Linked DNA regions of Homo sapiens: regions 1, 3, 4, 5, 6 and 7 are each linked to region 2. The links are contacts of gene promoters, found by promoter capture Hi-C in blood cells and fetal thymus (Javierre and others, 2016). All regions are on one chromosome and are shown on one strand. Each heading gives the region's core, a stretch centred on a gene start or on the middle of the fragment in contact. The rest is flanking DNA. Distances are from core to core; before and after follow the strand shown. Region 1 overlaps ZNF385C (zinc finger protein 385C). Region 2 holds the start of CAVIN1 (caveolae associated protein 1). Region 3 overlaps DNAJC7 (DnaJ heat shock protein family (Hsp40) member C7). Region 4 overlaps CNP (2'',3''-cyclic nucleotide 3'' phosphodiesterase). Region 5 overlaps ZNF385C (zinc finger protein 385C). Region 6 overlaps ZNF385C (zinc finger protein 385C). Region 7 overlaps DNAJC7 (DnaJ heat shock protein family (Hsp40) member C7).

Region 1 (3,530 bases), core at 316-2,815, 330 kb before region 2:
CCTCAAGAGACTAAGGCAGAGAGTCAGAGGGATACATGTCCAGACTGACAGGCAGATATAGAGAGAGGTGAAGATACAGAAAGACCCACCCAGAGAGATAGCCACGCAGTCAGACACTGAGAGTGGGAGTGTGAGAGAGAGGGACAGAGAGAGAAGGGGTAGACAGAGGAGGCAGAGAAAAAGGAAGAAGAAAAGACATAGAAAGACTCACAGAAAAAAGAGCTAGACGGGTGGAGAGGAGAGACAGAGATAACAAAGGACAGGGTCAGGAGAGGGGAAAGGACACAGATGGGGAGCACACAGGAGGCGCAGGGCCAGACACACTCACAGGCCGAAGCAGAAAGAGGCTCACGAGAACTACACAAGGACAGACAGCCTCAGGACCCAGAGACACTCTCCTGGGAGACGTGGGGGGAGCCAAAGTGCTTGGGGGTCGAGCCCCACTGGGGGTGGCCTCACCAGGGCAATGCTGCTGCCTCCTGTCCCAAAAGCTTAACCAACCGCTGCCGGCATCTGGCCCCCAGCCACCCTCTAGTAAGCCAGCCCTTGGCCACTGGAGCCAGTGGGTCACCCAAGGTGAATGAAAAGTCACCAATAAGGGACAGTGAGAGTGTGACTGGGGTGAAGGTATGGGTGTCACAAGCCATGTGTGTCAGGGTGGGTCTGACCTGGGGTGGGGTTTAGGAGCGCACAACCCTATACACAGACCTCTGGGGGTTAGTGCAGGCGGGCATGCGTACCTGAGTGAGTTTGTGAGTGTCTGTACACGTGTGTGGATCCAGTTCCATTAAGAGCCTCACGATGCTAATGAGGCCAACGTGGCAGGCTGTTCCTCAAATAGCCCAATCAGAAACAATGAGTGAGCAGAGACAGCCACAATAAAGGTTTCATGCCTCTTCTGAACAGACGGTGTGTCCAGGTGCCACAGGGCACTTGACTACAGTCAACACCAGCGTACCATTCATTCCCGCTGGGGATGACCCCCGCCGCCTGGCCAGCTGACCCCACAGTCTCCCCTGTCCCAAGCCCAAACTCCAAACTCATGGGAGAACCCACATGATAGACACATGGGCCCTCCCGGGTGGCAGGCGCAGCTCCCTCTGAGAAGGGCAGCCAGAGGGATGGTGGGGTCCAACCCTGGCTTTCCCCCAGGCTAGCTTCCATCCCTCCTGCTGCTGCGGCCCCATTTAGCTCTCTCCTTGCTCCTGGGGTCCAGTGACCCACACCCTCACCACACACAGGAGAGAAGTAACCTCTCCTCCCCAGCCCTTCCCTCTCAAGCATCACAGGACATTAAAAAAAAAATTGTCCCAGTTTTGTGGTGGATAATGAGGTCAGGAGGCCCACAGGGGAACTGCTTGTTGATGACAACTGACAATCTTCATTTCACCTTGAAACTCCGTCCTGGTCCAGGTAAGCATGTTCTAAGCCCAGTTTTATAGGGGTGCTACTCTACTGGGGGACAGGGAGAGTGGGGAAGGAATTAACCAAATGGCAGCTGAAGTCACAGGCCCAGCCAGGCCCACCTGGAACACTCACAGGGCCTGGGGCAAGGGGACAAATGGCGGCCCACAGACATATGTCTAAATATTTAAAAGTTATAAATCAAGCCAGCAAACTGTGAAATATGTTCTAACCTCTCACCCTGACAAATACACCTTCATTAACAACCTGGAGGACCAGATACAAATTTGGATTTATCTGCCTCCTGAGCTTTACACATCAGAATGACTCTGTGCAGAGGAGACAGCTCCACTCGCACCCTGGCCACCCCCCTTCCTGCTGCCGGGTCCTGTCTGCACCACAAGGGACTCTTGTGCATGTATAAGGACACCCAGCCTCATGTCCTTGCTCCATCCACAGCCCCTGCAAATAGCTGTCCCTTCACTGTCCGTAGGGGTGCACACACTATTGGCATAACCTGTCCTGAGGCAGACAGGCCCAGGGAAGAGGCTGGCATGGGCTGGGAGCCAGATGGTGACCATCTAGGCAGGGACCTCCAGAGTCACAGGTATGGAGAATGTGGTCTTGGAGGGGACTCACAGTCTCATCCCCTCGGCCCTGCTGATGCCTCATCCCACAGGGAGAGGACTGGCAGCAGGAGGGCCAGAGTGGAGCCTTTGAAAGCCCCCAGCTTAGGGCATGGGCACTCCCTCCCTTGCCCAGGTTTAAGGGTGCTACTGAACTCAGCCTTCCCTGGCAGCCTAGAGATCAGGCCAGGGCCTGAAGCTGTCCTTTCACTGGAGGACAGCTTGGACAATCCCCAAACAGGACTTTCAGTCACTCGTATTATTTATCTTCCTGGAAAAATTTAGTGCGGCTTGATCCCAACTCCTGGAGGTGGGAGGGCAGAGCAGTGATGACAAGAGGGCATTTTTTTCAGGTTGGGTCTCCAAGCCAGAGCTTGTTCCACTGAGGCACAGCCCAAGTGAGCTCCTGCTGGTACTGGTCCCTGCCTTGGGCGGGGGCGGGGGGACTCTCTCCCCTCTACAGAGACAAAAGGCAACACAAACAAGGTGACTAAAAGAGGAGGAGGTGAGGGGCCCTGGGCAGCCCAGAGAGGTCCAGAGATCCAGGAACCAGCAGGGGGCAGGTTCCCCCTGGTAGGGGGGCATGCAGTGAAGGGCACTCTTTCTAGCCAAGCTTAGCTAAAAAAAAAAAAAAAAAAACCCTTCCACTCCCCCCTCCCCTGCTCGCTCTCACTCCCTGCAGATCGGCTTTGCTGTCCCACACATGAGGGGACACTGGTACTTTCTGAGCCCTCGCCAGGCTCCAGGCACTGTGCTAAGCGCTCTACATGTGTACCCTCATTTAACCCTTGCAGCCACTCTATGAGGTGGGTTCTATTATTATCCCCATTTTACAGGTGATTAAGTGAACTCAAAGAGGTTAAGAAACTTGTTCAAGGTCACGCAGTAGGTAGAGGTGTCAGAACTCAGCTCTAACTGACCCCAAAGCCCCCACTCTTTCCACTAGAGCACATGGCCTCCCAGAAGCAAGAAGCTGGCACAGACCCAGAAGGGATGAAGGTCGGATATGAGAACGAACTTCTGCCTCTGATGGTTTGTGTGGTGAAATGAGGCAATGGAATGGGGAATCTAGACAGACAAGGAAGCCCCCCTCCCCCCATTGTCACCCGTGTCTGTCCAAAGGCTTGCGATGATCTCAGGAAGGTCCCTGGGGTCCCAGCTGGACCCAGACAGCAATGTCCTGACTTCCCTTTGTTCTATAATCCAGGGTCCTCTGCTCTACTTCAACCCAGCACCAAGACCCAAAGGCTGCCTCTCCTTAGTGGCTCAGAGCTCTGAGCATCACATTCAAGCTGTCAGCCCAGGTCCTCCTCCTCCAGGAAGGCTTCCTCGAGGTCCTGGGAGGCAGGACCCCTTTCCTACAGCCCAAATCCCAACACTGAGGGTGCAAATGCTCCCCTGTCTGCAATAAGGCCACATCTGCGATCACCTTCCCCAGCCGGCTCTGTGACACAGACACAGAAAAGATCTACTGAGTTCCCAGACTTTCCGGGTTCCCTA
Region 2 (3,863 bases), core at 1,146-3,645:
GGCTCTCGGCCACACCAGGCTCTGGAGGAAATATAGAGCTGGCTTGCTGTCCCAGACCCCTGTCTTGTTCCGCTCCTCTCAATGTCCCCAGTACTAAGCAGGTCTCTTAAAAAACGTCAAAAGCCCCCCTCTCATCCTGCGTCCTCCAAGCAGTTAGACTAAGTGGAAATAGCTCTGGGCAAACATTTTCTATCTAAATAGTGCTTAAGTAGGGGAAGTAAAGCTTTTAAAAGCCACGTATATGCCTCCTGGGAGGAGTCTGTCATCCGTGGGTAAGGGTGGGGAGGGGGACAAGTGCCACTTCTGCCTCTGTCCCACCACCTCAGATAGGTACCAGCTGACCCACCTTTCTGTCTCTACTCTTCCCAGATACTTGTCCTGATTTGCATCTATCTTAACTCCTCCTGGGGAAACCAAGCCAAGGACCCCCTCGCCTCACCCCAGATGGTCACTCAGAACCCGGCTCGACCAGGCCCCAGAGCAGTCAGCAGAGCCACAACTCCCGGAAAGGGGTCTTCTAACTTGGAGGGTGTGGGAAATCCAGCCTTCCCTTTCTTTCCATTCCCTTCAGCAGGGAGAGGAAGGGGAGAGGGGAGCATAGACTAACCCCCCTGCCCCACACGATCCCGCCTCCCTGGGGTTAGGAGCATCAGCAGGCCTTTGGGAGGCGGGGAGGAGCCAGGCTGGAACACTTGCCGCCCAGCCCAAAATCTCATCCCCGATGGCACTGCGGAAGCGGCGTGGAGAGGAGCAGCATAGAAACCCGAGACTCCCAGGTTTATTGGGGGTTATGATCCAAAAGCTACATTTTTATCCAAGTGTGAAGAATGGGGAGAGCTGCAAAGAAAGCAACAAGTGGCCCCGGGCGGAGCCGGGGGGTGGGGGCGCCAGCCTCCTCCCGCCGGCTGCGCTGCTGCGCCTGGCCCCCGCCCCCGCAGGCATGCGGGGTGATTCACCTCGCCCAGACTGCGCCCAGACCGCCGGACCCCGCAGGGGCTGTCCACCCACTCCACCAGCCCCTCTTGCACTCCTGACGCCCACTCTTCCCCGCCCAGCCCCGCCCGCTTCCAGGAGGCCCAGGGTGCCAGCGCGCCGCGGGTGAGGGTGTCCTCAAGGGCCTGAAAATGCCTGGTGGCCAGGAGCAGAGAGCAGCGAGGGGACAGGGGTGGGCCGCCGAGGCCGATGTGGGGGCGCGGGGGCGCAGGGTCTGGGGAGGAGGTTGGCGGTCGCGTTCCCCGCTTGGCACAGCCCCCGCTGGTGCGTGCCTGAGCCCTGAATCACCCGCTATATCAGGCCCGCAGGCGCAGAGGCCCCAGGCCCGGGCCCCGCAGCCAGTGTCCGCTTACAGCGGACCCCAACGATCGCGAGGGACCCCTGACTTTCCTAGAAACTTCCCCCAAGTAGGAAGAAGTTTGACAGAGCCAATTAGGGAGGGAGCGGTCTGCGAGGGGCAGCGTCCTCGAGTCCACCCGCTAATTCGGTTCTGCTACAAGTTTGGGACCCGAGGGAAGGATCTGAGTGGGGAGGTGCGAGGTGCAGAGCGCGCCCCTCTACGCGCCCCAGGAGTCCGCCGCTCCCTCCACCCCATCCTACCCCACCCAACCCCACCCCAGCCGCGCTCACCGGAAGGAGGGTGGATCTGCCGGGCGCCCGGGCCAGGCTGGGAGGGGAGCAGCGCCACGGGCAGGTCTCCCCACCCCAACTCCCAGGCAGGGGACGCGGGCCGGGCGCGGGAGCTCTGGGCGCCTTCCGCCCTGTGGGCTCACCTGGTAGATCATGACTTTAAAGTTGCGGCGCCGCAGCAGCTCGGCCTCGTTGACCTCCAGCTTCTTGATCTGCCCCGCCTGGCGCTCCAGGCTGCCGCGCACGGTCTTCACGTTGACGCTGACCTTGCGCACCTTCTCCAGCAGCTTGCTCACCGTATTGCTCGTGGTGGCGTGCGCCTTGCCCAGCTTGCTCAGCTCGCCCTGGATGCTCTGCACTGCGCCCTCCATCTCCGCCTGCCGCTCCTCCAGCTGTGCTTGAGTCAGCTGGATCTGGTCTACGGCCCCGATGATTTTGTCCAGGAGGCTCAGCACCAGCACGCCGTTCACCTGGTCCGACTTGATCAGCTCTTCTGAGCCGGCCCCCGACGGCTCCTCCGCTGCCTGAGCCCCAGCGGAGGAAGGCTCCGGGGCCTCGGCGTCGGGGTACCCGGGAAGCGGCCGCTCGACAATATAGAGCGTGGGGTCCTCCATGGCTACCCGGAGCCGTGCGGGACCGGCCGGGTGGGGCTGGAGCTGGAGCGGGAGACCCGGAGAGAAGCAGGAGCGGAAGGGAGGAGAGCTAGCGGGCGAGAGCGGAGAGCAGAGGAAACTCGAGCCACGTCCGTGCGCACCGGGACAGCGGCCAGAACTGCTGGGCGGGGGATCGGTGAGCTCCCCAGCTCCCGGGCCAAACTCCGGAGTCTGATCGCTGATTGGCTGGCCCCACCCCAGAAAGGGAGGGACCGGGGCAGAAGGGGAGATCGACGAGGCGGGGCGGCGGAGGGGGACCCAAGAGCCGAGCGCCCCACCCTTCCCGGGATGGTTGGAATAGTTGGAGCGGGAGACTAGGGCCTCCGCTGGCGGCGGGAGCGGGACGGGCGGAGGAATGCGAGCTGAGGAACGGAATCAGGTTCTAAGAGTGTTGCTCTCTGTTTCCCTCTCACTTGAATTGCTCATCCGAAAATCCTCAAGATCTGGGAGCCGGGTGGACCAGGAGATTCTGAAATTATAGGCAAAATCTTGTATTTGCCTTTACCTAGATTTTGAGCACAAAAGGACCCTTGCCCTTTACAATATTTTCTAAGAGGCCTCTCGGATTTCCTCATCACCAACCCCAACCAGGTTACTAACTCAGGGGTAAGCTTAGGGGGTTGTTTGTGGGGGGCGGGGGGAGAAAGAGAGAACGTATTTGGGGTCACGGTGGTGGTGAAGGGCTGCGAAGCTCCTCTAAGTTCTTTTTAGAATTGCCCTAACAGAGTAGAATTAAGATGGGCAATCAAACGGAAAATAAAGCCCACCTCCCAACCCCCCTTTCTGAGACAGGGTGTCACTCTGTCACCCAGGCTGGAGTGCAGCGGTCTGATCACAGTTCACTGCAGCCTCGACCTCTTGGGCTCAGGCAATCCTCCCACTTCAGCCTCCTGAGTAGATGAGACTATAGGCGCTTGCCACCACGCCCAGCTAATTTCAATTTTTATTTTTTTCAATTTTTATTTTTTTAAGAGACGGGGTGTACACTATTTTGACCAGGCTGGTCTCGAACTCCTGAGCTCAAGTGATCTGCTGGTTTCAGCCTCTCAAAGTGCTGGGAGCCACCGCGCCTGGTGTAAAGCCCTTTTTAAAAGCCCACCTCTCTTAGGCCAGGCGCGGTGGCTCATGCCTGTAATCCCAGCACTTTGGGAGGCCCAGGCGGGTGGATCACGAGGTCAGGAGTTCAAGACCAGCCTGGCCCAAGATGGTGAAACCCCGTCTCTGTTACAAATACAAAAATTAGGCCAGGCGCAGTGGCTCATTTTGGGAGGCGGAGGTGGGTGGATCACCTGAGGTCGGGAGTTCGACCTCAGCCTGACCAACATGGAGAAACCCCATCTCTACTAAAAATACAAAATTAGCCAGGCGTGGTGGCGCATGCCTGTAATCCCAGCTATTCGGGAGGCTGAGGCAGGAGAATCACTTGAACCCGGGGGGCAGAGGTTGCAATGAGCTGAGATTCGCGCCATTGCACTCCAGCCTGAGTGGAATTCTACAGAGTAGAATTCCTCTTTTTTCCAAAAGCTTTTTCAATCCTTAGTAGAAGGAATTTAAATTACTTTAATACATTTCTCCTAAATTCTAAAG
Region 3 (3,848 bases), core at 1,253-3,752, 410 kb before region 2:
GGTGACAGAGCGAGACTCCGTCAAAAAGAAAAGAAAACAATTTGAAATCCCTCAAGTTTACCATAAGAAAGACTCCCTATAGAGATCAAGCTGTTTCCCAGCCCAGGAGATATAACAAGAGATCCTTAATTCAAGACAGGTATTCCCATATTAGGTAAAGCAGTCAGCAACTTCCCAGGAAAATATAAAGCCTTAAGTTAGTTGAAATGTGAAACATCTGAAGTTTAACCCTCTGGCTCATAAATAGCTTTGCCTGTTTTGGTGAGCAAAGAGAAATAATCTTCATGCATAGAATCCTGATCTGTTTTGGAGTGCCAACTAATATATCTTTTATTTTAGCCCCAACCCTTTTTTTTGAGACAGGGTTTCACTCTGTCACCCAGGATGCAGTGCAGTGGTGTGATCGCAGCTCACTGCAGCCTCGACCTCCCCCAGCTCAGGTGATACTTACACCTCAGCGTCCCAAGTAGCAGGGCCTACAGGTATGCACCATCACACCCTGCTAATTTTTGTATTTTTTTTTTACAGAGATGGGGGGCGGGTTTCACCACGTTGCCCAGGTTGGTCTCGAACTCCTGGCCTCAAGCAATCCACTGGCCTCAGCCTCCCAAGGTGCTGGAATTACAGGCGTGAGCCACCGCACCCAGCCTTAAATGTTTTTATAGAGACTAAGTCTCACTATGTTGCCCAGGCTGGTCTCAAACTACTGGGCTTAAGCGATCCTCTCATTTTGGCCTCACAAAGTGCTAAGATTACAGGCATGAGCCACTAAGCCTAGCCTTATTTTAGTTTCTTGGCTGCTGTAAGGGAAACAGAACTTTGTCAGAGTGACATGCAAAAAAATTGAAATCCATCTCTTTTCTCTACAGAAACACTAAAGCTAAGGAAATAAAACATGTAGCCATTTAAAATGCTGCAATCGTGAAGTCCGTCTTAAAAGCTCCTCTCATTTTGCCCCCCTATGGGACTGTGACAACTTAGCAGCAGCAGGACATGTCTTAAGCCAAGACGTAAGGAAGGAAGGACTCCTTACAAAGCTGGACCTCACAAAAACGACCCGAGAGACTCATTAACTCTTGATCCCTAAATGAACTGGTAGGAGGACCATAACAACAGAGGCAGGAACTTGGCCAAAGAACTCTAACCAAGCCAGACAGTAAAAGGGCATTTGTAAGGGATGCCCCTATCACTGCCCTCTGCTATGGCCACACAAGAGGAATCCAGGACACATGAAAAACATAAAACCACCTCCCTCCAAAGCTTCTAAATCTCCATCCCATTTTCAGCACTGGAAAAATCATACATAAACAAGGCTTTTTCATACTAACAGAGCCTAATGTTTATTCTTTTTTTTGAGACAGAGTTTCACTCTTGTCGCCCAGGTTGGAGTGCAATGGCACGATCTCGGCTCACCGCAACCTCCGCCTACCGGATTCAAGTGATTCTCCTGCCTCAGCCTCCAAGTCGGTGGGGCTACAGGCATGCACCGCCATGCCTGGCTAATTTTTTTTTTCTATTTTTAGTAGAGATGGGGTTTCTCCATGTTGGTCAGGCTGGTCTCAAACTCCCGACCTCAGGTGATCAGCCTGCTTTAGCCTCCCAAAGTGCTGGGATTATAGGCATAAGCCACCGCGCCCGGCCAATGTTTATTCTTCTAAGGATGTCTGATATGGCAAAAAGTTAAACTGATTTTTTTGTTTATTTCACTTATTTTCCTTTTTTTTTTTTGAAATGGAGTCTCACCATGTCGCCCAGGCTGGAGTGCAATGGTGTGACCTTGGCTCACTGCAACCTCCGCCTCCCGGGTTCAAGCGACTCTCCTGCCTCAGACTCCCGAGTAGCTGGGATTACAGGTGCCCACCACTACGCCCAGCTATTTTTTCTATTTTTAGTAGAGATGGGGTTTCACCATGTTGGCCAGGCTGGTCTCAAACTCCTGACCTCGTGATCCGCCCACCTCAGCCTCCCAAAATGATGGGATTACAAGTGTGAGCCACTGCACCCAGCCAATTTTCCTTTTGATTTGTGCAAAAAAGTGGTATATAATAAATAACTATGTTTAAGTCTGTCGAAAACAGTGCTATATATGAGAAACATAAAAGTCTGATAAGAATGCATTTTTTTCTTTTTTTAATTGATTTTTTTTTTTTTGAGACGGAGTTTTGCTCTTGTTGCCCAGGCTGGAGTGCAATGGCATGATCTCCCCTCACCACAACCTCTGCCTCAGCCTCCTGACTAGCTGGGATTACAGCATCACCCCACCTGGCTAATTTTTGTATTTTTAGTAGATGGGGTTTCACCGTATTAGTCAGGCTGGTTTCGAACTCCTGACCTCAGGTAATCCACCCGCCTTGGCCTCCCAAAGTGCTGGGATTACAGGTGTGAGCCACCACGCCCAGTCTTTTTTCTTTTTTTAATTAATTTTTTTCTGTCACTATTTGAACTACAGGAATAATGCATGTTGTCATGTTTAATTTACAGTTACATTTTCTTAGTGACAGATAAAATAATTTGCATTCTGCAATCAATGACTTTTTTTTGAGATGGAATCTCACTTTGTCACCCAGGCTGGAGTGCAATGGCCCGATCTCAGCTCACTGCAACCTCCACCTCCTGAGTTCAAGCGATTCTCCTGCCTCAGCCTCCCGTGTAACTGGGATTACATGTGTGTGCCACCACGCCCCGCTAATTTTTGTATTTTTAGTAGAGACAGGGTTCTGCCATGTTGGCCATGCTGGTTTCAAACTCCCGACCTCAGCTGACCCACCTGCCTCGGCCTCCCAAAGTGCTGGGATTACAGGTGTGAGCTACTGCACCCAGCCTAATGACACTTAAATTCCATGAAATAAGGTAGTTTACCTTATTTTGTTGTACTGCTATCAAATACCATGTTTTGTGTGATGTGGTCACATTACAGCATAACCTATTTTATTATATGTCTTCAGGTTCATTTACTCCAATTTTATGATAGACTATCCTCTAAGGCTGTGATTGAAGAAATGTATTTGCTTAAGATAGGAGGCTATGAAATGAAGTCCAAAATAGGGACACTCTACATCAGAGATTTACAATGAGTAGGGTGAGTTTTTAAAATTACCTATGGCCAGCCCGGCACAGTAGCTCACGCCTGTAATCCCAGCACTTTGGGAGGCCGAGGTGGGCGGATCACGAGGTCAGGAGATCGAGACCATCGTGGCTAACAGGGTGAAACCCCATCTCTACTAAAAATACAAAAAAAAAACAACAATTAGCCGGATGTGGTGGTGGGCACGTGTAGTCCCAGCAACTGGTGAGGCTGAGGCAGGAGAATGGTGTGAACTCAGGAGGCGGAGCTTGCAGTGAGCTGAGGTCGCGCCACTACACTCCAGCCTGGGCGACAGAGCGAGATTCCGTCTCAAAAAATAAAAAATAAATAACCTGTGGCCAAATCCCTATTTACAGTATAAAGAACCACTGAACTCTTTCCAAATACAAGTAAATCTCTACAATTAATTTAAGCTCCGTCTGCACTGGGAGGAATTTTGTTTCCCATTGTGCAGCTCTTTAATGATGTATAAGGGTTGATGATGCTTAGCTTTAAATATCTAGGAAGAAGTAGGAACAACATGAAAGCTCAAAATTAAGAACAGAGACTGGACTCTGGTGTCCTGGCTTCTCTGATATCCCAGGGGCCTATTACACTTTGTCAGGCCCCTCAGCTCCCAGCAGATCAGGAACTTGAGATCTGGCTGTGGTAACCACCCTCAAGCTTGATAACTATTCATTGCGTCCGAGTACTTCTTATATTTCGAACTCATTAGATAGTAAAAATCTCAGAATCCTGATTTCAGATCTCATGAACTAATTCT
Region 4 (3,600 bases), core at 736-3,235, 450 kb before region 2:
AATGATAGGTTTGAGATAAAGAAGGGTCCTGGTGGCTCTCCTGGAGTGACCTGTTGGAGAAGTGCCACCCACTAATCCATCTATATGCCTTTAGGCCATTTCTGGTTGCCTCCAATTTTATTTATTTATTTATTGTGACACGGAGTCTCCCTCTGTTGCCCAGGCTGGAGTGCAGTGGCGCTATCTCAGCTCAGTGCAACCTCTGCCTCCCAGATTCAAGCAATTCTCCTGCCTCAGCCTCTCGAGTAGCTAGGACTACAGGTGTGCACCACCACGTCCAGCTAATTTTTGTATTTTTAGTAGAGACGGAGTTTCACAATGTTGGCCAGGCTGGTATTGAACTCCTGACCTCAGGTGATCCGCTTGCCTTGGCCTCCCAAAGTGCTGGGATTACAGGCGTGAGCCACCACCGCACCCAGCCACCCCCAATTTTAGATGATCTTCATGCCTGAAATAGCCCCACTCTGGTTTGTTGACATTGTGTATATTGCACAGAAGCAGGGAATTTGTGCCTGTATGGGTTCTCAGAGAGCTTTTTTCTCAGCTCCTAAACTTGAACTCTGCAGTGAACTGTGGTGCTTGCAGTGACATTGGCCAGGAGCAAGCCCTGTACCTGTGAGCTGGTGGCTCTGCCCTGGAGTGACTACTGCTCAAAGTTGCTTTTAATATTTATTTATGAGACGGAGTCTTGCTCTGTTGCCCAGGCTGGAGTGCAGTGGCATGATCTCGGCTCACTGCAACCTCCGCCTCCTGGGTTCAAGCCAATTCTCTGCCTCAGCTTCCCAAGTAGCTGGGAATACAGGCGCCTGCCACCATGCCCGGCTAATTTTTTTTTATTTTTGTATTTTTAGTAGAGACAGGGTTTCACCATCTTGACCAGGCTGGTCGGTAGCACAAAAGAAAGGAGGGGCCCTTGGCCCAAGATGGGACGAATCAAGCTTGACAGGATGATTGCCAGATCTTTTTTTTTTTTTTTTTTGAGACGGGGGTCTTGCTCTGTCGCCCAGGCTGGAGTGCAGTGGGGCAATTCGGCTTACTGCAACCTCCATCTCCCGGGTTCAAGCAATTCTCCTGCCTCAGCCACCCAAGTAGCTGGGATTACAGGCACCCGCCACCATACCTGGCTAATTTATAAATTTTTAGTAGAGACAGGGTTTCACCATGTTGGCCAGGCTGGTCTCAAACGCCCCGCCTCAATTTCCCAAATTGCCGGGATTACAGGTGCGAGCCACTATGCCCAGCCTATTTTATTTGTAAAGGAAAACTGGATTTTTCTGCCCAGGATTAGAGCAGGAGAAATGTAATGGGCCAGCAAGGCTGCTCTCAGGAGAGGCCTTCCTCCCCTGTGGAGGGCGAGACATCCTCATGGGGACTCAATTCAGAACATAACAGGAAAAAGCGAGTGACTCCAAAGACAGCCACAGGTGTGGAGTCTGGAAATCAAAATCACAGATACTCCACTCCTCTTTGTGTCTTCCAGCCCCATAATGTCACCCCATTATAGTCCAAGACCCTTCCTGTACCAGGAGGCCCCCCCATAGGCCTGCAAGGTGTGTATTAAACTGATGGTGACGTTGTGACTGCTTGTCCAGATGGGCCCCTGAGTGAAATGGGGCACTACTGATAGTTCCCTGGTGGTCCTGGGAACACTGGGGTATATGGTCACCCTAACTGTTGTGCTGGATTGATAGATAGGGTTGGTCACTTGCCCGAGGCCGATGGCTGGTACATGGCAGAGCTGAGATATTCACTGTGTTCTGGCTGTTTCCACCGTACCATGTTGTTCCCAGCCCTCTGTTTTCTTTCCACCCCACTTCCCATGACTTGCTTCCCCTTTGAGACGTGGTGCTAGTAAATCTTAGATTCCCTTGGCCTGTACTGCCTGCCTCTGTTACAAATGCCTTAGAGTTTGGAGAAGAGATGGAAAGATCTATACAATGTAAAGCCAGAGAATTTTAACTTTTTTTTTTTTTTTTTTGGAGACGGAGTCTTGCTCTGTTGCCTAGGCTGGAGTGCAGTGGCACTATCTCGGCTCGCTGTATCCTCTGCCTCCTGGGTTCAAGCAATTCTCTACCTCAGCCTCCCAAGTAGCTGGGATTACAGGCGCCCGCCACCACGCCTGGCTAATTTCTTTGTATTTTTAGTAGAGACGGGGTTTCACCATCTTGGCCAGGCTGGTCTTGAATTCCTGACCTTGTGATCCACCCACCTCGGCCTCCCAGAGTGCTGGGATTACAGGTGTGAACCACCGCACCTGGCCTGAGAATTTTAACTTTTTATTGCTCTAAAGTTGCCATTAGTTTGACCAACTAACCAATGAATGAGCTGTAGTGGGTTGCTGGAGAGGTGATGCTTAGTGTCCGAGTGTTTTGCGCTGGGCCTCGGTGGTCCTGGTGGCGGATGTTGGTATGCCCCTGCTCCCCTGCCCTGACTGCACCCGTTTTCTCCCGGCAGTCGTCCCTGGGGATGAGCCCAGGGAGAAGATGGACTTGGTCACCTACTTTGGAAAGAGACCCCCAGGCGTGCTGCATTGCACAACCAAGTTTTGTGACTACGGGAAGGCTCCCGGGGCAGAGGAGTACGCTCAACAAGATGTGAGTCTTCCCCAGGGACACATGGGGGAGGTGGGAGGTTGGGGGAGAAGGGGCTGCAGCATCTTCTGAAGATAGGTACCGGTGCCAGGCAGGGACCAAAAACCAGATGGCAGCTCAAGAAAAATGGCATCTCCTCCTCCTAGCTCCCCTGTCCCCAGGCGTAGCTGCATAGACCTCAGCCGCAGGTTCTAAGGAGCCTGCCCTGGCAGTACTGCCAGCCTGTGCATTCACCTGCCCCCAAGCACCTTCGCCTTCTGCAGATTCATGGAGAATGCTGGTCCACAGTGGGCTCCTGCTCTGGTCTCTCTGAGCCTGTTTTACCTTCCAAAGACTAGGAGTCCTTCGCCCCCAGGGAGCCTGGTGCACTGAGGTCCCCATCCCTGTCCCCAGGTCTGAGGTCTGGCCTGGCCCCAGAGTGAGGGAGTTTCATACGATAATGAAGCTTATTGGCTAATGGGTACGAGACCTTTCTGCACCACACAGCTGGCACCTTACACCCACAGCCACTGACAGTGATCCCTGAATGCCAGGCATGTCACCCATATCCACAGTCTCCAACTTCCAAGTGTCCACCCCCAAGCCCACTCTCCCACTTCTCTGCCTAGGTTAGCACAATCGTTTGTTTGTTCACTAGAGTGTCCTCCCAAATGGAAGCTCCCCTGAGGGCGAGTTTTTAAGTTTCGTTGACTCCTGTGGTTCCAGCACCCTAGCATAGTGGAATGAATATGTAACACCTGAGCTACCATCCCTAACCATGCCTTCATTTAGCATTTATTAACTACCCATTTCATGCCAGACACTGTTGGGACAAGGGATCGTGAGCAAAAATAGAAAAGCGTTTATGCTGAGATGGGATGGGCTGTCTCAAAGAATCAGATAGAAGCAGACATATCATCAGATGGGAACCAAAGTGTAAGAGCAGGTTTCCATCAAGGGCGAGTCTGACCTCAGTCTGACCTCACCCTGTCCTCCAGGGCGCTGTCTGGGTCCCAGGGGAAGCTGAGCG
Region 5 (3,689 bases), core at 833-3,332, 350 kb before region 2:
CCAGGGCACCTTGTATGAGACCCTAACACTGCCCTTATCACACTGTATTAATTAAACTGTCTCTCCCAAACCCTGCTTTGGTTACCCAACTATACTGAGCGCTCCTCCCCCAGGGTAGTTCTGGGCCTTCATTCATTTCTTTTGCCTGGTACCTTGCATGGTGACCAACTGACCTGATCTAAACCACTTAATTAAAAATGTGTTGAATAAATGGTTTCCAAGTGTTGGATTATCCCAGTTACATTCCTTTATACTCCTTTTTTTTTTTTTTTTTTTTCTGATGGAGTCTTGCTCTGTCGCCCAGGCTGGAGTGCAGTGGCGCGATCTCGGCTCACTGCAAGCTCCGCCTCCCGGGTTCACACCATTCTCCTGCCTCAGCCTCCCCAGTAGCTGGGACTACAGGCGCCCACCACCACGCCCAGCTCATTTTTTGTATTTTTAGTAGAGACAGGGTTTCACCGTGTTAGCCAGGATGGTCTCGATCTCCTGACCTCATGATCCACCTGCCTTGGCCTCTCAAAGTGCTGGGATTACAGGCGTGAGCCACTGTGCCTAGCACATTCCTCTAAACTCTTTTAGGCTTTTGGTATCCTCCATAGAACAGAAAAAGGGACAGCACAACCTCCCCCCATCTCTGCCCTCCTCTGTGAATGCTGCCCATCCCTCAGTTTTTCTTCAGCCTTGAACTAGCTTTACATAGAGCTGAGCGTCCTTGAAACCCCCAGGTCTATTTTCACGTGATGCACTGGTGAGTTCAGCCTCCCTATCCCAGCCCCCGAGTGAATGGTAGTTTCCTGCGCTGGGAGGCCCAGACCGTATGTTTGGGCTTGCTGGCTCTCCCATTCTGCTTAGCCTATTGAAATCATTCAGCAGGACCACAGGTGCCAGCTTAGTGCCACCCACAAAGACGTGGCTTCACCTAGATACCTAGGAATAACACACCCCTAAACTCCAACTCTGCACGCAGGCAAAACACTGCCGTCTATTGTGGGCCTTCTGTGTGCCAGATCCTTCCCATGCCCTTTCCCACTCATTTCATCCCCTACTAACCCTGAAAGTTTGCTACTACTCTCCAGATTTTGAAGATAAAGAGGGGGAGGCTCTGGCCGGGCGCGGTGGCTCACGCCTGTAATCCCAGCACTTTGGGAGGCCGAGGCGGGTGGATCACGAGGTCAGGAGATCGAGACCATCCTGGCTAACACGGTGAAACCCCATCTCTACTAAAAATACAAAAAAATTAGCTGGGCGTGGTGGCGGGTGCCTGTAGTCCCAGCTACTCAGGAGGCTGAGGCAGGAGAATGGTGTGAACCCGGGGGGCGGAGCTGGCAGTGAGCCAAGATCGCGCCACTGCACTCCAGCCTGGGCGATAAAATGAGACTCTGTCTCAAACAAACACACAAAAAAAACAAAGAAGGGGAGGCTCTGAGAAGTTAACTTACCTGCCCAAGGTCACACAGCTAGAAAGGGGCAGAGTGGGGATTTGGACCCCATTGGATGACTCCAAAGCATAGGGTGTCTCTTTCCTTTATACCATGGTGCTTCTAAAGGCCTTATCCCAATATGCCCAGTAACTTTTTTCCTACAAAGGTGGGGTGAAGAGGAAGAACAAATGAAAAAGCTCTTCCTGGTAATGGAGAGCTGGGGGTGTGAGGTGGTGCTAGCCCTTCCTGGTCCACCTTCCACTTGCCCAGTGAGGGATTCAGGCCCCTTAAATATTGCCCTCCCCACTCCAGAAAATGACGCTTAGTCTAAATAAAGCCTCTGAGTCTCCAGTTTGACTATTCCAGCTCTCACTACTGGCCAGTCTTATCCACTGTCTCCTCTTCCTCTGTTTTGTCTGTGGATGACTCTTCAGCCCTAGAACAGTGCCTGACACACAGAAAGTAACAAAGACATATTGCTGGATTTGAGGAATGAACCAACTCTCACTGTAGGTGCAAAGAGAAATGGATCAGGCACCTTGCTCTGACTGTGTGAGTTTAGGCAAGTTACTTCCCCTCTCTGAGCTTCAGTTTCCTTATCTCTAAAACAGGGCAATTAACAGGTAACGGTGTAGAGGATGGTGTGACATCATGCCTGCAAAGTACCCCATATAATATGTGCCCAACTAATAGTAGGGGCATTATTAATTAGGTGTTGCTGGTCCCGGCTTTAGAGAGAGGGACATTGAGGCTCAGAGAGGTGAAGGAACTTATGCAACCCTCAACATTACACAGCTTGGAAGAGGCCCATACCGAACAGCAGCTGATGGGCCTGGATTTAAGGCTGTGCCCTTTTTCTTGCTCCTGGGGCCTTTCCCAAATGTTCAATAAGTAACATTTCTACTACAAAGATAAGAGGTGGTTAAAAGAATTGTTCATAATAATAACACTAAGGGCCCCAGCTGAAGCAAAGCCTGTAACAAAGGGACTCAGGCAAGGAGCAGAGACCCCGGCCCAGCCAGCAGCTTCCCTGCTCGGCCCACAGCCCAGACTGGGGCTAGGACGGGTGGCGTCATTCTGGACTCCTGGGCTCTAGGAGGGTGGGAGAGGCCCCAACAGTGGGTAGGCCTGTCCCACCCCACCCATCATGGGTTCTTTCTGCCCCCACTGAAAGGGCAGACTCTCTAGTGGCTTGAACAAGTCCACTGTGACCCCTCCCCCCACATTTTGCCTCCTAAAATAGCCCAGAGCCACCATGTGCCCAGGGCGGCTCCCCACTGGTTGCAAATCCCCCTGAAATCAAATCCCCATCCTGCCCCAAGGAGGACGGCACCACCTCCTGCCACTGCTGGGCTCCAGCGCCAGCCAGGCTCCCCCAGTGGAAACCGGGACAGTTGTCCTTCACAGTGACCGGGACATAAATCCCCAAATAATGAGACAGGCACTGGGAACACAGAACCAGACACAGTGCTAATTGGTTTGCTTCTGGGCAGAGATGATGTGGAGACAACAGTAACAGGCCTCAGTTTCCCTGGCGGTGTATTGGGGTGGGGGGATGCAAGGGCCAGGGATCCCTGGCTGGGCTGATTTTCTACGCCTTCTGACTGGCCTCACAACCTACTAACCAGTCGCACTTTTTAGGATATTAAATTCCCAGATGTAAAAGGAAAGGGCTGGGGTCTCCTGGTCCAGGTCCTGAGGTAGGAAGCCTAGAATCTCTACCATGATCCAGAAACACCTTCTTTCCATTAAGAAAAAAAAAAAAATTCAACCAACACTCAGATCCTTCCCAGTATGCATGGGGGACTGGGGGAGCAGGGAGGCGGGGAACCCAGTGCAACCTCCCTGCTCCTCATGTGAGGTTGGTAATGGATTCTTGGACAAGCCCAAGGACCTCAGTTTGCAGTAATCAGGATGAGATTATCACATTAAACTTTCAAAGTCTTTGCTCAAAAAGAAGCAGCAGCAGCTGACACCCTTGACTCCCCCGACTTTCCCACTGTCACCTTCTCCTGGACCATGACCAGATGAGCTCCAGATACAGGCCACGTGGAGGCTCCACTGCACTGGGGCAGAGGCAGGGGCATGGACAGGATGATCTCCCTGGGGGTGGCCTCAGGGTTGTGGTAAGATGGAAGGGGGAGGAGGTGGGGGAGAGAGGTGAGCATGTGTGTCTGCGGGTGTAATTTGGAGGGACTGCGGGGAACTGGAGTAACTTGAAGTCAGGCAAATGTGTTTACGTTGCAACTTCGCCACTAATCGTGTGAC
Region 6 (3,393 bases), core at 425-2,924, 390 kb before region 2:
ACACTTTGGGGTGTATGTACCCCAGAACATTCATCCCTTTGTTCATTTGTTCAACAAGTCATTACTGAGCATTTGCTATTTGCCAGGCACTGTGCCCGGGGTCCGGCAGGAAGAAGAATGGTTCCTCCCTCAGAACGAATTCTCTCCTCCATCTTTTTTTTTTTTTGAGACGGAATCTCGCTTTGTCACCCAGGCTGGAGTGCAACGGGAGCAATCTAGGCTCACTGTAACCTCTGCCTCCTGGGTTCAAGCGATTCTCCTGCCTCAGCCTCCCGAGTAGCTGGGATTACAGGCACCTGTCACCACAACTGGCTGCTTTTTTTTTTTTCTTCTGTATTTTAGTAGAGATGGGGTTTCACCATGTTGGCCAGGCTGGTCTCTAACTCCTGACCTCAAGTGATCCACCCACCTTGGCCTCCCAAAGTGCTGGGATTACAGGCATGAGCCACCACGCCCAGCCTCTCCTCCATCTCTTGCAGGACTCATGGAACCAGAAGGCCTGAAGGGAATCCTCAAATCTGGTCTGTCAGTGTCCTCCCTCCAAGGGTCCTCACTTGCTGCTCCCCGGCCCACCTCCTTGAAACATGGGAAAGACAGGCCCCCATGGCCCCTCCCTGGATGCTATACCACAGCAGTTCTGCTGGCATCCAACCGAAACCCCAGATTGCCTAACAGGAGGTAGACCTTCCCTGGGAGGCCAGAATGAGGTTCCTCCTCTACCTAGTGGTAAGATGTAGTAGAAAGGGGTAGGCTGTAGTAGAAAGTCATAGACCTTGGGGTCAGCCAGGCCTGGATTCATATCCCAGCTTTGCTACTTACCAGCTGTGTGGTCTTAGGCAAGTCACTTAACCTCTCTAAGGCTCACTTTCCTCATCTGAAAATCGGGGATTATAATAGCGCCTCTAGGCCAGGCGCGGTGGCTCACACCTGTAATCCCAGCATGTTGGGAGGTTGAGGTGGGTGGATCACTTGAGCCCAGGAGTTCGAGACCAGCTTGGGCAACATGGTGAAACCCTGTATCTGCCAAAAATATAAAAAAATTAGCCAGGCGTGGTAGCACATGCCTGTAATCCCAGCTACTAGGGAAGCTGAGGCACAAGAATCACTTGAACCCTGGAGGTGGAGGCTGCAGTGAGCCAAGATTGCGCCACTGCACTCCCGCCTGGGTGACAGAGTGAGACCTTGTCTAAAAAAACAAAACAAAACAAAAAAATCCCGCCTCCACCCGTCTCACAGATGTATCATGAAAACTATTATTTAAGGGGATGGGCATGATCACATTCTGTAAACTCTCAGGTGCCTTAAGAGCTCAGCTCCAGACCAGGAGCTGATGAGATGGGCCACTGGGACCTGGAGTGGAGGAAGGGCAGTCTTCTCTCTTGCAGAAGGATCCAGAACACAGGAGAGAGGCCTGGGGGGAAGGAAATGGAATCCCACTGGGCTACAGCTGGGCAGAAGGGGAAGGGGCAGAAGAATCTAGAGAGAGGAGAGGATGCGATGGTTAAAGGACCAAGAGTGCCTCTTCTGCAGCCAGGGTGGAAAATACCGACCACAGCCCCTTTGCCACTGATATTCCTCCCAGAAGGACTCTGAAAGCCCAGCCTCCAGCCCTCTCCCTGCCCAGCCCCCTCCCCAGACCTGCTTTCACTACTTTGTCTCACCGCTGAGTTGAACCTCAGGTGACAGATGTTACAGGAAATGAACAGCTTCTTCTTCAGAGGGGAGGGGACACCAAACGTGTGGCTGATGACAGCTTTCTGGACCGGGTCCATCTGTGAAGGGAGTGGGAGGGCATAATAACTCTGGGGTTGGCTTGGGAAGCAGGGGTCGGGGGCAGCACAAAATGCCCAAAACTAAAGATGACTGAAGAGGGCCTTGGTCAGCTTCTAGGAAGAACTTTTCCATCCTGTGGATGTTGGAAAGAGAAACAGCTGGGCCAGGCGCGGTGGCTCACACCTGTAATCCCAGCACTTTGGGAGGCCGAGGCAGGCAGATCACCTCAGGTTGGGAGTTCAAGACCAGCCTGACCAACATGGAGAAACCCCATCTCTACTAAAAAAAAAATACAAAATTAGCCAGGTGTGATGGCGCATGCCTGTAATCTCAGCTACTCGGGAGGCTGAGGCAGGAGAATTGCTTGAACCAGGGAGATGGAGGTTGCGGTGAACCGAGAGCAGGCCATTACACTCCAGCCTGGGCAACAAGAGCGAAACTTCGTCTCAAAAAAAAAAAAAAGAAAAGAAAAAGAAAAAGAAAAGGAAAGAAAGAAGAAGAAACAGCTGCCTGGGTGCAGTGGCTCACGCCTGTAATCCCATCACTTTGGGAGGCCAAGATGGGTGAATCACCTGAGGTCAGGAGTTCAAGACCAGCCTGGCCAAGAGAAACTCCTTCTCTACTAAAAATACAAAAATTAGCCAGGTGTGGTGGCACGTGCCTGTAGTCTCAGCTACTCAGGAGGCTGAGGCAGGAGGCTTGAACCTCAGAGGCAGAGGTTGCAGTGAGCTGAGATTGCGCCACTGCACTCCAGCCTGGGCAACAGAGTGAGACTCTGTCTCAAAAAAAAAAAAAAAAAAAAAGAGAAGAGAAAAGAAAAGAAAGGAAAAGAAAAGAAAAGAAAAATACACAGCCTCTCCCGGCTGTCTTTATTTGTCAGCCTAGGCTTCTGCTTGGAAGCAGGGGAATGGCCAGAGTGCCCTGCATGTTTCTGGGACATAGAACCATGTCCTGGTGATCACCTTGGCATCTCTTGGTGCCCCTTAGGTCATTATTTTTGTTTTTTGTTTTTCTCCTTTGCAATAATTACAACTATTGGGACAGAGAGTTGGAAACAAGGAGAGGCAGGGAAGAGACAAAGAACTCGTCTGTTGGAATTTCCTCTCCCATCACCCAGGCTTCATGCAGGGACCTGTGGGCTGGGGGAAGATAAGTCCTATCTCATCAGCTCTATCACTGTCACAGGGCCTGAGGCTGCTGACGACCTTTTTTTTTTTTTTTTTTTTTTTTTATAAGATGGAATACTGCTCTGTCGCCCAGGCTGGAGTGCAGTGGCATGATCTCAGCTCACTGCAACTTCCACCTCTCAGGTTCAAGTGATTCTGCTGCCTCAGCCTCCCGAGTAGCTGGGATTACAGGCGCCCACCACTACGTCTGGCTAATTTTTGTTATTTTTAGTAGAGACAGGGTTTCACCATGTTGGCCAGGCTGGTCTCGAACTCCTGCCCTCAAAATGATCCGCCTGCCTTGGCCTCCCAATGTGCTGGAATTACAGGTGTGAGCCACCGTGCCCAGCCATGACGACCTCTCTTGAGAGAGTGAGAGCCACAGCCAGGGGAGGTGGGGGGCCAGTAGGGGGCAGGGAGCAGCAAGTGGAGGCCTAAGGTTCCCCAAGGAGTA
Region 7 (3,613 bases), core at 213-2,712, 440 kb before region 2:
TGGTTTGCAAAGATGGAATGACTGACAGTCAGTCTCACAGAAGTTATAATTCCCTGTATGTTTCTGTTGGACAGACTTAGTCATCAACTTAGAAATTCACTTTTAAAAAAAGCATCACACACAGCAGCAGTTTTCCTATTTTAAGTGAGATAATTTTGAGAAAACTAAGTGGGAGGTAGTCCATGAGATATTCTGTACCACTGATGAGACAAGGAAGCTTAAACTACTGGCTCATCAGGCATCAGTGACAGCATCTGTTCTTTGGATATGACATTTTATAATAAGGAGTGGAGCAGGTGCTGGAGGATTAGTATACAATAAATACATCTTCTCTAAGAACTTTAAAGACGGGAAGTTTTTCTCCGCCTAGAGAATAATCTGAAATCAGAAGAGATGGATTTCTGAGAAAGATTTCTCCTAGCCCTGTTCCTATCTGGAGAAAACCAGCTGGTGGGTCTAAGAGTAAGAGGAGCAACCATGCCAGGGAGCACCCTGACTCTGGGGCAAATGTGAGCATTAGAGGTAGGCACATCCTGGCTCATAATCACCCTGTCAGACACAGAGTGCCCTCCACTCAAAACACTCAAGCAGAGAGTAGCCATCCAGGGTGTTTCAAAAGGAAGTTCCTTTATCCTGGGAGGCTGAGCCGGATTACATCTCTTCCAACTCTAAGATTGTCTTCCCTCGCCCAGAACAAACAGGATGAAGTACAACTCTCAACTGTCTCCAAGAGTTGTTTTCTCTTCCAAGCACCATACATTCATTCAACAAAACATTTATTCAGTGAGCACCTATGTGTCAAGCACTGTGCCAGGGTAGAGCATAAGTGTACAACACAAAATAAAATCTCCAAAGGAAATGGATTTAAACTTTTTAACAAAAGGAATTTGGGTCAGGCATCAGAGGAAACTTACTGACCGTGAGGGGCGTTAGACACAGGCATGGGAGACTGAGGGAGCTTGTGCAATCTCCTCCGCTGGAGGTCTATAAAGATAGTCTAGGGCTGGAACAATCCCACCTAGAGGCAGGGGGAAGGACCAAATGACCTCACAACATCTCTGGGTCTGCTTCGTCATCCACAAGGCAATTCCCCTGAGGCCAGCGGCAACTCCCTCTTCCCCCTACCCATCAGAGGCACTTACCACTGAGCTCTTCTCAAGTAGGCTTTTATGTAAGTGTCATCAAGCTTCACTGCATTTGTGCAGTCTTCTATTGCATCATCTAGTTTCCTAAGCTTCAGGAGAGAGAGAGCAATCATACTTCACACCTTTGGTGACTGAGGGAGCCCAGAAGCTGTGAGCATGGCTTCAAAACTCTAAGAGGATCAGTCATGCTGGCCCCTTAAATGTCATATTAAGTTCTAGTTCTTTGTCACCAGGGCTATGGACAGCAACTTCAAAATTGATTTCTCTTGTATATGATACAAGCCAGGCACATCTGTCTTCAAGGATAAACTACCTTTACCATTCCATGTTAGTGCCCAATGAAAACATGAAAATAGTAAGGCTGGTTCCTGCCCTCCTTTTTTCCAGAGGTCACCTGCAGGGATCAGAAATCACTCTGATTTTTAACTGCTAGAATTCTGCAAGGGCAAGGAGTCTACTTTTTGTTTCTGATGTTGGGTAGGGCCACAAAAGCACTCAGGCCATTTTCAACCATGCATGGTGACCATCAATTACACTGGAGAAAAACAAGCTTGCCTCATACTCTTCCTCCAAATCACTCCTAAAAAATAAATGATCACTTGCATAAGCAAAACAACAAAAAAGCAACAGTAGGTGCTTAAGATTATCCCACAGACCCTAGCCATTCTCTTACTGGAGGAAAGGGACCTTAATGAACAGGTGAGAATATCCTTGCAAATTGTCCAACTGCCCTCAAATTCCATAGAGATGACAAAAGCTTGCCTCTTGGAAGGGAGTTCCTAACAAACTATTAACCATAACAACTTTCCCTCTTTCATCTTGCTTACCCTCACTAGGCAGATTTCCCAAGACCCTTTGATGTCCCTTAAAAATATTTCTATAGGCCCCAAGATCTAGATCAAGAGCTTACCTTGGAATTAACCGTACCCCGATTACAGTAGAGTTTAGCATTTGTTTTTATATTGTTGGGGTCTATCCCCAGGGCTTCTGTGTACAGTTCATATGCTAGTTTGTAATTTCCTTCCTTAAATGCTTTATTCCCATCTTCTTTCTTTGCTTTGAGTGCTTTGGCATTCTACAGAAAAAAGCAAGGGGAGGATCGGTTCATATCCACAAAGCCTCAGACCATTGCACAGAGAGGCCAGACTCTATTTTCAAGTTCTTTGCTTCCAGCAGTTCAGCATCACAGAGCCCCGCCAACCCCCAATCTGGGCTATCTGTTGCTCATTTGAGCTTCCTACAGAGTGGACAGGAAAAGAGTTACCAAAAATACCAATGAGACCTATGTTACTGGGTCTGCCTTCACTTCTCAGGACAAGTATTACTATCTATCTTCACTGAGGGGAAAAACAAAACAAAAAAACCCTCTTAGATATTAAAGGCATCCGACCCTATATGATCACATCTACCTTTAGGTAAATACAAGTAGTCCTGAAACCATTTCTAATAAAGACCAAGCATCCTTGCAAAGCAGGAGGAAAAGCTATCACATTCCTTGTGATTCTAAAACCTTCCACTCTAGCCATCTTAAAGGTCCCAAAAGGAAGCTCTTTCCCAGTTAGGTCTGGTGACTAGAACTTACTCTGCAGGCAATGCAGGCCTTCTCGTGGTCAGGAGCCATCCTGAGAGCCTGTACGAAAAACTGAACTGCCTTCTCAATACAATCTTCGTAATAAAGGCAAAGACCTCGTACATACAGAGCATCTGCATTGGTGGAATCCATTCGTAGAATGTCACTGCAATAGTCAGAAAAGGGCACATTGAGCTGTGCTTTAGAATGTCCCCACCATTACTACCATTTGTGGCCAGTTTTCCTCCTTGACCATGTGTCTAGCATTCAAAATATCCAAAGGTAGACAGATTCCCAAGAACTGTTCCCAAACTTTCCCCAAATAAACCACCTATAATTATCTTTAATACACATCTTGTGTCTTACAATCCTTATTAAACTAGAACAGGGTTTGGCAAACTACAGCCCACAGGGCCAAATCCTTTCTGCCACTGGTTTTTGTAAATAAAACACTATTCAAACAGCCACACCCATTGGTTCATCTATTATCTAGGGCAACCTTTGCACTGCAATGGCAGAGTTGAGTTAGTTGCAACAGAGACCCTGTGGCCTGCAAAGGCTAAAATCTGGCCCTTTGCAGAAAGTGTGCCAACCAGTGGAGTAGAAGGAAAAGGACTACCTTAAACAAACAAACAAAACCACAAAAACACAATCTGTTCTTTCATATATAGCTCAAGTACCTGCTATACTACTATACTCCTGTATACCCTACGGGTTTTCAAAGCTGGTCTAATCTTTGACTTTAAGTCCCAAGAGGGTCTGATCAGCCCTAGCTGGCCTACTCTGGGGACCATATCCTGTGGTGAAGCTGCCGGACACCATCAGTCCAATGGTATCTGGCATTTTAATGTCCAGCTAGCCTGACTGCATACCTAGCCACAGACTGTGCTTCTGGATA

What was found. The method cuts DNA at HindIII sites, captures the fragments that hold promoters and counts their contacts. A CHiCAGO score of 5 or more calls a contact.
Region 1: a contact is called between a fragment that was not itself captured here and the fragment with the promoter of CAVIN1 in region 2, in 1 of 17 cell types (activated CD4 T cells). The highest score is 5.2, in activated CD4 T cells.
Region 3: a fragment that was not itself captured here is called in contact with the fragment with the promoter of CAVIN1 in region 2 in 2 of 17 cell types (fetal thymus and activated CD4 T cells); the score reaches 5.8 in fetal thymus.
Region 4: a fragment that was not itself captured here is called in contact with the fragment with the promoter of CAVIN1 in region 2 in 1 of 17 cell types (fetal thymus); the score reaches 5.2 in fetal thymus.
Region 5: a contact is called between a fragment that was not itself captured here and the fragment with the promoter of CAVIN1 in region 2, in 1 of 17 cell types (activated CD4 T cells). The highest score is 8.0, in activated CD4 T cells.
Region 6: a fragment that was not itself captured here is called in contact with the fragment with the promoter of CAVIN1 in region 2 in 3 of 17 cell types (activated CD4 T cells, fetal thymus and naive B cells); the score reaches 8.3 in activated CD4 T cells.
Region 7: a fragment that was not itself captured here is called in contact with the fragment with the promoter of CAVIN1 in region 2 in 1 of 17 cell types (activated CD4 T cells); the score reaches 5.9 in activated CD4 T cells.

What each region holds. Positions count from the first base shown.
Region 1 is chr17:42,094,326-42,097,855 of GRCh38, forward strand. All of the region lies in intron 1 of ZNF385C (zinc finger protein 385C), which reads right to left. Among named protein-coding and RNA genes, the nearest start is that of ZNF385C, 2.4 kb to the right of the region's middle. The HindIII fragment of the contact is 2,152 bases long and covers 490-2,641 here.
Region 2 is chr17:42,420,861-42,424,723 of GRCh38, forward strand. It overlaps CAVIN1 (caveolae associated protein 1), which reads right to left and starts at 2,396. Exons shown (of 2, transcript NM_012232.6): 1 at 1,767-2,396. The coding sequence starts at 2,237. It overlaps LOC102725238 (a long non-coding RNA gene), which reads left to right and starts at 2,328. Exons shown (of 4, transcript XR_007065758.1): 1 at 2,328-2,412. The HindIII fragment of the contact is 2,664 bases long and covers 222-2,885 here.
Region 3 is chr17:42,012,458-42,016,305 of GRCh38, forward strand. The region is part of intron 1 of DNAJC7 (DnaJ heat shock protein family (Hsp40) member C7); the gene reads right to left. Among named protein-coding and RNA genes, the nearest start is that of DNAJC7, 3.1 kb to the right of the region's middle. The HindIII fragment of the contact is 2,488 bases long and covers 1,259-3,746 here.
Region 4 is chr17:41,969,438-41,973,037 of GRCh38, forward strand. CNP (2'',3''-cyclic nucleotide 3'' phosphodiesterase) reads left to right here. Exons shown (of 4, transcript NM_033133.5): 3 at 2,455-2,594. Among named protein-coding and RNA genes, the nearest start is that of CNP, 4.4 kb to the left of the region's middle. The HindIII fragment of the contact is 2,098 bases long and covers 937-3,034 here.
Region 5 is chr17:42,075,236-42,078,924 of GRCh38, forward strand. All of the region lies in intron 1 of ZNF385C (zinc finger protein 385C), which reads right to left. Among named protein-coding and RNA genes, the nearest start is that of ZNF385C, 21 kb to the right of the region's middle. The HindIII fragment of the contact is 6,157 bases long and covers 1-3,689 here.
Region 6 is chr17:42,032,564-42,035,956 of GRCh38, forward strand. It overlaps ZNF385C (zinc finger protein 385C), which reads right to left. Exons shown (of 9, transcript NM_001392013.1): 4 at 1,662-1,772. Among named protein-coding and RNA genes, the nearest start is that of NKIRAS2, 14 kb to the left of the region's middle. The HindIII fragment of the contact is 5,646 bases long and covers 1-3,393 here.
Region 7 is chr17:41,986,677-41,990,289 of GRCh38, forward strand. DNAJC7 (DnaJ heat shock protein family (Hsp40) member C7) reads right to left here. Exons shown (of 14, transcript NM_003315.4): 6 at 3,588-3,613; 7 at 2,728-2,881; 8 at 2,056-2,220; 9 at 1,143-1,234. Among named protein-coding and RNA genes, the nearest start is that of CNP, 22 kb to the left of the region's middle. RefSeq lists enhancers at 1,268-1,768, 1,769-2,269. The HindIII fragment of the contact is 461 bases long and covers 1,233-1,693 here.